Regions from separate parts of the Homo sapiens genome. Here all the other regions are linked to region 3. Evidence: promoter capture Hi-C in 16 types of primary human blood cells and fetal thymus (Javierre and others, 2016). All regions are on one chromosome and are shown on one strand. The core of a region is centred on a gene start or on the middle of the fragment in contact, and the rest is flanking DNA. Distances in the headings are between cores, read along the strand shown. Region 1 has its middle 110 kb from the start of PABPC1. Region 2 has its middle 95 kb from the start of PABPC1. Region 3 holds the start of FBXO43 (F-box protein 43).

The links. Contacts are between HindIII fragments. The CHiCAGO score rates a contact against its expected background, and 5 or more counts as called.
Region 1: a contact is called between a fragment that was not itself captured here and the fragment with the promoter of FBXO43 in region 3, in 7 of 17 cell types (naive CD4 T cells, naive CD8 T cells, activated CD4 T cells and 4 more). The highest score is 10.0, in naive CD4 T cells.
Region 2: a contact is called between a fragment that was not itself captured here and the fragment with the promoter of FBXO43 in region 3, in 1 of 17 cell types (activated CD4 T cells). The highest score is 5.1, in activated CD4 T cells.

The regions. Positions count from the first base shown.
Region 1 is chr8:100,834,362-100,837,257 of GRCh38, forward strand. No RefSeq gene overlaps it. Among named protein-coding and RNA genes, the nearest start is that of PABPC1, 110 kb to the left of the region's middle. The HindIII fragment of the contact is 1,871 bases long and covers 601-2,471 here.
Region 2 is chr8:100,815,441-100,818,356 of GRCh38, forward strand. No RefSeq gene overlaps it. Among named protein-coding and RNA genes, the nearest start is that of PABPC1, 95 kb to the left of the region's middle. The HindIII fragment of the contact is 2,172 bases long and covers 213-2,384 here.
Region 3 is chr8:100,144,103-100,147,146 of GRCh38, forward strand. It overlaps FBXO43 (F-box protein 43), which reads right to left and starts at 1,715. Exons shown (of 5, transcript NM_001029860.4): 1 at 949-1,715. The coding sequence starts at 1,033. RefSeq lists an enhancer at 178-327 and a silencer at 1,439-1,898. The HindIII fragment of the contact is 15,929 bases long and covers 1-3,044 here.

The DNA.
Region 1 (2,896 bases), core at 286-2,785, 690 kb after region 3:
CACACACACAAATTAGCCCAGCATGGTGGCGGGCCCCTGCAGTCCCAGCCACTTGGGAGGCTGAGGCAGGAGAATTGCTTGAGCCCAGGAGGCAGAGGTTGTAGTGAGCCAAGATCGTGCCACTGCACTCCACTTGCACTCCAGCCTGGGTGACAGAGCGAGACTCCATCTCAAAAAAATAAAAATAAATAAATAAGGGGGCTGGGGGCAGTGGCTCACGCCTGTAATCCTAGCACGTTGGGAGGCCAAGGTGGGCAGATCACTTGAAGTCAGGAGTTCAAAACCAGCCTGGCCAATATAGTGAAATCTCGTCTCTACTAAAATCACAAAAATTAGCCGGGTGTGGTGGTGGACGCCTGTAATCCCAGCTACTTGGGAGGCTGAGGCAGGAGAATCACTTGAACCGGGAGGCGGAGTTTGCAGTGAGCCGAGATTGCACCACTGCACTCCAGCCTGGGCTACTGAGCGAGACTCCATCTCAAAAATAAATAAATAAATAAATAAATAAATAAAACAAATAAATAAAAATAAAGGTTACCACTGAAGAAAGCTTTAAACTGTCTCGGCCTGGAGATGAAGCCAGAGGAATGCATATGAACAAGCTTTACTAACCAGCCTTTATCTGCCAGTTCTTTGCCTTTCCTCAAGTTGCTGCCTGTAGAAACTCAAAATCCATTTCCTTTGTCCTGTCACTTCTCTAAAAGTGTACTGTTCTTTGTTAAAGATGCCAGCTAAGCTGGAATTCCAAGCCACCACTTTGAGAACTACTCATTCTCTGTGTATCTCCCATGTATTATGAAGTATATATGTGAATAAATTTGTTTGCTTTTCTTTTGTTAATTTGCCTTTTGTAACAGAAGTCTGTTTCTACTACAGACCTCTGGAGGTTCTTTTCCCCCATGCAAGGATACTCCCGGGAGGAACGTCCCTCCCTGAGGCTGAGATGGCACAGAAGTTTTCTGGGTTGCTCCAGGCCACTGGACAAGAAGAAAACACCACTCCGAGGTAGAGATGTGTAGAAAACCGTGGCCAGGATTGGCAAGCAGAAAACACCTCTCTGGAGGGCTGGCAGGCCAAGGCTGGGAAGCCAACTGAGGCACCCGCATGATTCACTGGGGATCATTCCTGGGAAGGCTGCGGGAACCCTGTGGGAAGTTATCCATCTGGTGCTGCTGGATCCTAATGGAGCTGTCACTGGATCTTTGGTTGCCGCATTGGGGGGTGTGGGGAGAGGATTGAAAAGCAGCAAAACCTGGATGGTGGAAGCAACCGCCTTCCTCCTTCAGCATCCCTCCAACGCCCTCTACTGACGATGCTTTTAACATCATGCCGGCTGCAAAGGAGAAATAGTCAAAGGACCCCGAATCTCACAGTGTGAATCTGGAGAGGCAGTAAATTGATAACTGGCATAAGTGTTTACCTTTTACGAATCGATTAATGTTATTGACAGCTGAGTCATGTAACATATTACGATTACTTCTCCTTCCCTACTTTTTTGTTTTTTCTCGGATTAATCATTGGTTTTGTTGTTTTTGTTTATTTAATTATCACCAATCCCCAAACTCTCCCTAGTTATGTAAATCTTCTCTCCCACAGGGGAACAATAGTCTCAGTCCTCATTCTGGCAACATTTGGGTACTGGACCATGAGGCAGGTGAGGGACACATGGCAGCGGAGACCATCGTCATTATTTGAGGAAGTTTATGCATCTTCAGCAGGATCCCCCACTGTGGTCTTGTGACCAATTCACAGAGGCCACTGGCTTGGGGTCTTTCTTCTACCCTCTCCTTTCATCTCCTTAAGGGTGTTCTTACACGTGTTCTGCTCACTCCTTCATCAACTCACTCCTCTCCTGGCTTCTCATATTACATTTATTTATTTATTTATTTATTTATTTATTTATTTATTTAGATGGAGTCTTGCTCTGTCACCCAGACTGGAGTGGAGTGGCGCGATTTTGGCTCACTGCAACCTCCGTCTCCCAGGTTCAAGCGATTCTTCTGCCTCAGCCTCCCCAGTAGCTGGGACTACAGGCGTGTGCCACCATGCCCAGCTGATTTGTGTGTGTGTGTGTGTGTGTGTGTGTGTGTGTGTGTATATATATATATATATATATATATATATATATATATATATAGAGAGAGAGAGAGAGAGAGAGAGAGAGAGAGAGAGAGAGAGAAACAGAGAGTATGTATGTGTGTGTATTTTCACCATGTTGGCCAGGCTGGTCTCGAACTCCCGACCTCAGGTGATCTGCCTGTCTCAGCCTCCCAAAGTGCTGGGATTACAAGTGTGAGCCACCGCACCTGAAGCATAAGTTTTTTAAAATTCAACTATCTAAATAGGTTTATTCCATAGGTAGAATATTTTTCCCCATTTGTTTTGAAGATCAAATAACTTTAGGATTCAAAATAATGTGAAAGTCTTAGTACACACTTGGATGAGTTGATCTTAAACTGCTATTCATGGAAAGCTTTTCAAGCCTGAAATATTAAGGAAACTCACTGTTTCCTTAAAAAAAAAAACAGCTGGCTTTAATTGTTGGTCTTTACTGAATGAATGGATTTTCCAGATAGACAAAAAATAGTTTTCTATAACTAGCACAGAAAGGGAAGAAATAAAGTGAATTGCAACAGGCCAGCATTCAGATGATGGCAAATCCAGGGCTCTAGTCTTTGGTTAGAGGCTTAAGTGCTTAGAACCTATTAGAAGTTGTATTTGAAGAATAAAATGGTAACCAAAATAGTTTAAGTGGGTAAAAAAGGAGTCAGACCTCATCTGAAATTGGATTTCAGAATGGTTAAATTTGGATGTAAAATAAAACAAATATACGAGAATTTAAGAAGTATATGTACATATTTATAAATCTTAGATGAGGGAAGTCTTACTAAGCTAA
Region 2 (2,916 bases), core at 49-2,548, 670 kb after region 3:
TCTTGTGTTTATAATTTAGATTTTCTCCCCTTAGCTTTATTTCATTATGTCTGATTAAATCTGTTATATGATGCAACTTAATTTCCCAGCCTTTGTGTTTTGAACCAACATATGCTTAACTACTGTACAATTATGATTCATCCCCCCAACTTACATTAAACTGCCCCACTCTCCAGTCCTCCTGCTCCAGAGCCAACTTGGGGCATTTATGAAGCTTTGGTCTCTCTCATATGGGAGTAACAGGCCTTTAGGGCTTCCTCGGTAGGAAGTGGGGCATGTTCCATACCCACACACATACAGTGGGCACGTCCCCAAACATAGGAGGGGGTTAAGATGCTTGGCTCCTGTTCCCCTACCTGCCAAAGTATGACTATCCCTTACAGTTAGGCAAGCTCGCCAGAGATATACTGTACCTTTACAGTAGGAGACTGAGGGGCAGCCGTGTGATCTGTGGTCTTTCTTTTTCTTTTTTCTTTTTTTTTTTTTTTTTGAGACGGAGTCTCGCTCTGTTGCCCAGGGTGGAGTGCAGTGGTGCAATCTCAGCTCACTACAACCTCCACCTCCCGGGCTTAAGTGATACTCCTGCCTCAGCCTCCTGAGTAGCTGGGATTACAGGCACCTGCCACCACGCCCAGCTAATTTTTGTATTTTTAGTAGAGATGAGGTTTCACCATGTTGGCCAGGCTGGTCTCGAACTCCTGACCTCAGATGATCCACCCACCTCAGCCTCCCAAAAGGTTGGGATTACAGGCATGAGCCACTGTGCCCAGCCAATCTGTGGTCTTTCTTTCCCACTCCCAGCTTCTATGTCTGTGGAAATAGGAAATGTATTAGTGGAGCGTTTACCCAGTTGTTTGAAGGGAAAGACCTGTTCAAAGGCTCCTGGGAGGAACTTAGTCATGTGGCCACACAGCTGCAAGGGAGCCTGGGAAATGTGGTCTTTGCTTGAGCAAAGACCTGCTATCATGGAAAAAAGGGGAGAATGGATAGAGGCACAACTAGAAGTGGGCCAGAGGTATCAAGAAGCACTCCCAAGCAGAACCACAAACCTGCAGTCCAGAGCTCAGGAGGCCAACGTGATAGCTGGGAGTCAGTCAAGTTCTCAGCACACCTGCTGTCACCACTGGTGACATCTTAAAGGCACTGTGTGGCTTCTGAGGCTGCTGGAGGGAGTATTATTTTCAGGAGTCCACAAGGACCAACAAATGTGTTTCCCACTGAGATTTTTTTGAGGATTTGAATTCCTTAGCATATCTTAGGCTTTCTGGCGAACTAGGTGGATTTTAGCTGGCCTCCCTCTGCCCATGGTGACCTTATTTCCAGAACAACAAAGAAGGGCATGCATGCTGACAGGTGGCTTGACTGTAGATCTGGATACCTAAACATTTCTGGAAATTTCAGCAAGTGTGGTCATCCTGCTGTTGCTTGTATAGTATAATTATGTCCTGCTCCTGTAATAGTCACTGAAGGGGGCCTTTGGGATGCCTCTACTTTCCCAATAGAGCTGTTCTTCACAGAGCTCCACACCCGTTCTTGGCAAGCCACTCTTGTGCAAAAACACAATGGCATGAAATTGTGGGGGGAAAAAAAACAGTCCGGGTGCAGTGGCTCATGCCTGTAATCCCAAAACTTTGGGAAGCTGAGGCGGGCAGATCATGAGGTCAGGAGTTCGAGATCAGCCTGGCCAACATGGGAAAACTCTGTCTCTACTAAAAATACAAAACTTAGCTGGGCATGGTGGTGTGCGCATGTAATGCCAGTTACACAGGAGGCTGAGGCAGGATAATTGCTTGAGCCCGAGAGGTGGAGGTTGCAGTGAGCCGAAATCATGCCACTGCACTCCAGCCTGGGTGACAGAGAAAGACACTGTCCAAAGAAAAAAAAAACAAAAACCAAAACAATAGTTATATAAAATAGATTGATTTCCAATTAAGAGAAAAGGAAAGAGTTGCAGCCATATCTCCACAATAGTCATTAAACAACACTGTCTGGAGCAGGATAAAGTTAGAAACATTCAGCAATAGAGAACAGAAAGGACACCCAGATAATTCACAGAAGATAAATTCTTATCACTGGAGTGGCCAAGATATAATTTTCATGATGGTAAAAATATTAATCAAATCTTATTGTTTTTCAGCAAAGAAATCCAGATTCCTTACCCTGGCATTCAGGACTTTCAAAATTAAGGTCTTAATCTCATTTATGAGCATAGATGCAAAAACACCAAGTGAAATATTATTTAAATGGTGCATTATTACCAAGTAGGGCTAATTTTAGGGATGCAAAAGTGGTTCAACACTAGGAAATCTATTAATGTAATTCAATACATTAATTAATAGTTTAAAGGAGAAAAACCATTTGAGTATCTCAGTAGATGGTGAACAAGCTTTTGATTAAATTCAACGCCATTGCTATTAAAGACTCTTACTAGATGAAAAATATGGAAATAGCTACTGGAAACACACAGCAAACATCACACTGAATGGAGTAAAAGTAATATTCTCACAAAGACACGAAGAAGATGGTGATGCCTCCTACCATCGCTACTATTCAGTGGAGTCTGCTAAAAGTCTCAGTGAACCAATAAAATACGTACAAGAAAAGCAGTATAAAGATTGGAAGGGGCAGAGCACAGTGGCTCATGCCTGTAATCCCAGTACTTTGGGAGGCCCAGGCGGGCAGATCACCTGAGGTCAGGAGTTCGAGACCAGCCTGACCAATATGGCAAAACGCTGTCTCTACCAAAAAATATAAAAGTTAGCCAGGTGTAGTGGCGGGCACCTGTAATCCCAGTAACTAGGGAGGCTGAGGCAGAAGAATTGCTTGAACCATGGAGGTGGAGGTTGCAGTGAGCTGAGATAGTGCCGTTACATTCCAGCCTGAGCCACAGAGTGAGACCCTGTCTCAAAAAAAAAA
Region 3 (3,044 bases), core at 465-2,964:
TTGTACTGCTACTTCACCACTAGGTGTCTCACAATGCTAGAATTTGGGAAACTCAGAGGCAAATTGTTAAAAACAAAGTGGGGAATGCAGATATTATCTCTTTCCTCTAAAATGTTATCCAAAAATCTATTCTGGCCGGTGGCTCACGCCTGTAATCCCAGCACTTTAGGAGGCCGCGGCGGGAGAAATGCTTGAGTCCAGGAGTTTAAGACCAGCCTGGGTAACATAGTGAGACCCCATCTCTTAAAAAAAAAATTGTTTCTGTTCATCTACACACTTGAAGTTGCCTCCAACGTCCTTTCTCTGCTAGCATTTTCATCTTTCTACTACCCCAAGACGTTGGTCTCAAACGTGGTTCTTCGCAACTGAATTTTAAAATTATTCATGTAAAATCATGGACTGTCTGTTGTATTTTATGGACTCAACAGTTCACGGATAAATCAATCAAGCCTCTTCGATATTCATTTTTAAAAACTAGGCTTCTGATAAAAGGCTGAGAAAACTTATTCCTAAAGTGTTCTTTAAGAAAAAAAAAAAAAAAAGCAGCGGCCGGGCGCGGTGGCTCACGCCCGTAATCCCAGCACTTTGGGAGGCCGGGGCGGGCGGATCACGAGGTCAGGAGAGCGAGACCAACCTGGCTAACACGGTGAAACCCCGTCTCCACTAAAAATACAAAAAAATTATCCGGGCGTGGTGGCGGGCGCCTGTAGTCCCAGCTACTCGGGAGGCTGAGGCAGGAGAATGGCGTGAACCCGGGAGGTGGAGCTTGCAGTGAGCCGAGATCGCGCCACTGCACTCCAGCCTGGGCGACAGAGCGACTCCGTCTCAAAAAAAAAAAAAGAAAGAAAAAAGAAAAAGAAAAAAAAGAAAAAGCACCTACCACATCAGAGAATGAAGTACTTACATTAAACCCAAATGTTCTTCATTTGTTAAAGTGGAAACTCTTACCATCAGTAAATCTTGAGCTCTTAGATGTCAAAGTTACGTAGGCTTCCAAACAAGAAATTCTCTCATCTTTGTCTTTAAAACTCATGCCAAAATAATGCCACTTAAAGAGGAAAACTTTAGTTTGCACAATTAATTGAAAGGTGCAGCAGCATCATGATTGCTCAAAGTCGAAGGGTACACAGGGTGCATGCCGCAGGGATTATTCCTAACACTTGAGAAGGTCTAAATCATTTTGAATTTCCTTCAGCCCTCCAGAAAATAGTTATCTTAATATCCTTGTTTTCTCCAGCTGGACTTAGACATGAGTAAACTTCCCAAATTCGGGTTCCTGAAAAGGCAGCGTGTGCTGCAGCCTGGCACTGACTCCCCCGAGGAGCTATGGCGGGCGGGTGGGTAACGGTCTCACCAGGGCGTCAAAGATCCGCTAGGCCCAGAAAGCCAAGGGCAGCAGGGGATGGGCTGGCGTCACCAGGAGCGGAGGAGTGAGGGCTGCCGCGCGCCTCCCTAGGCCCAGCACCTGGAAGACACAGGGCGACGCGGGGCCGGGCCGCCGGGAGACCCGCTAACGGGCACTCGCCTGGGGTCCCGCCGCCTGCCTGGAGGCCGCGGGGCCGGGCGAGGCGCCGAAGCGGACAGGTGGGAGAGGAGCCGGGCAGCAGCCGCTGGATGGGCCGGGGAGAAGCCTCGGCCTCGCCCCCTGGGATGCGGGCTATGGCAACCCCCACGCCAGCTTCGCGTGGGGCCGCTGCCTTTACCTCCTTAGGTTTGAACGGCCCGCCCGGGGTAACCGCTAAGCGCAGCCCCGCCCCGCGCCGCGCTGTCCCGCCCCTTCCTCCGGCTCTGCAGCGCTCCCGCCCGGCCGCCCGCAGGCCTGGGTCCTCGCTTGAGCGGGAGGAGCGCCCCCTCTCTCGCTCACCCCTGCACCCGTCCCGAGGCGGGTCAGAAAGGCTCTGCTTCTCCCCATTCCCACTTTGGGAAGCATTACCGTATTTAGGAATGCTAACGTGGCCTACAGTGGGATGCCATTAGAAATCATGTATGAGAATGTTCCCTTGGAAATGATTCTCCAAACTGTCAAGTGCAAAAAGCAAGTTACAAACTGACCCCTTTTAGGTTAAAAATATGGATATACACAGGATGAGGTCTGAAAGGTATGAATAACTTGGATACGGTAAATTTGTACAGGATTATGTTTGCTTTTTAGTTCTTTTTATCTGTGTTTTCTTCTCATGTTTCAACAATGAATATATACAGATTTTGTGATAAAAAAGCTGAGCCGGGCCTGGTGGCTCACATCTGTAATCCCAGCACAGAGGTGGGAGGATCACTTGAGCCAAGGAATTTGAGACCAGCCTGGGCAACATAGTGAGACCCCCATCTCAAAAAAAAGATTTTTAAAAAATCTATTCATAAAAACCAGAGTGAAATGTGTTCATTGTTTACAAACATCCATTTTTGGGCATCATGAACTCCCAAGTACCCTCAAAGCCAAATAAATTTTTTAAACCCTAATTTTTTCATTCAATAAATATTTACTGGGCGTCTATTATATGCCAGGGACACTCCTGCTGCTCTTGGCAGCTTCTTCCTAGTCTCCTTTTTCTGGCTTCTTTTCCTTGGCCTACTCCCTAAATGAGAGGTCCTACCTCAGCATTTTTATTAGTTTATCATCCCATGCTTATGTAATTCTTATTCAGAACTTCAACCATCACTTTTAAGCCAATAACAGGCACTACCACCACTCTTCTCTGACTGGACATTTCTCCAACTGGATGTCCCTCAGTCATCCAAAACCAAACTCACTAAAATTATTATGAGACAGGGTCTCGCTCTGTCACGCACGCTGGAGTGCCGTGGTGCAATCTTGGCTCACTGCAACCTCCACCTCCCAGGTTCAAACGATTCTCCTGCCTCAGCCTCCCGAGTAGCTGGGATGACAGGCACCCGCCACCACGCCTAGCTAATTTTTGTATTTTCAGTAGAGACGGAGTTTTGCCAGGTTGGCCAGGCTGGTCTCGAACTCCTGACCTCAGGTGATCCACCTGCCTCAGCCTCCCAAAGTGCTGAGATTACAGGCATGAGCCACTGTGCCCGTC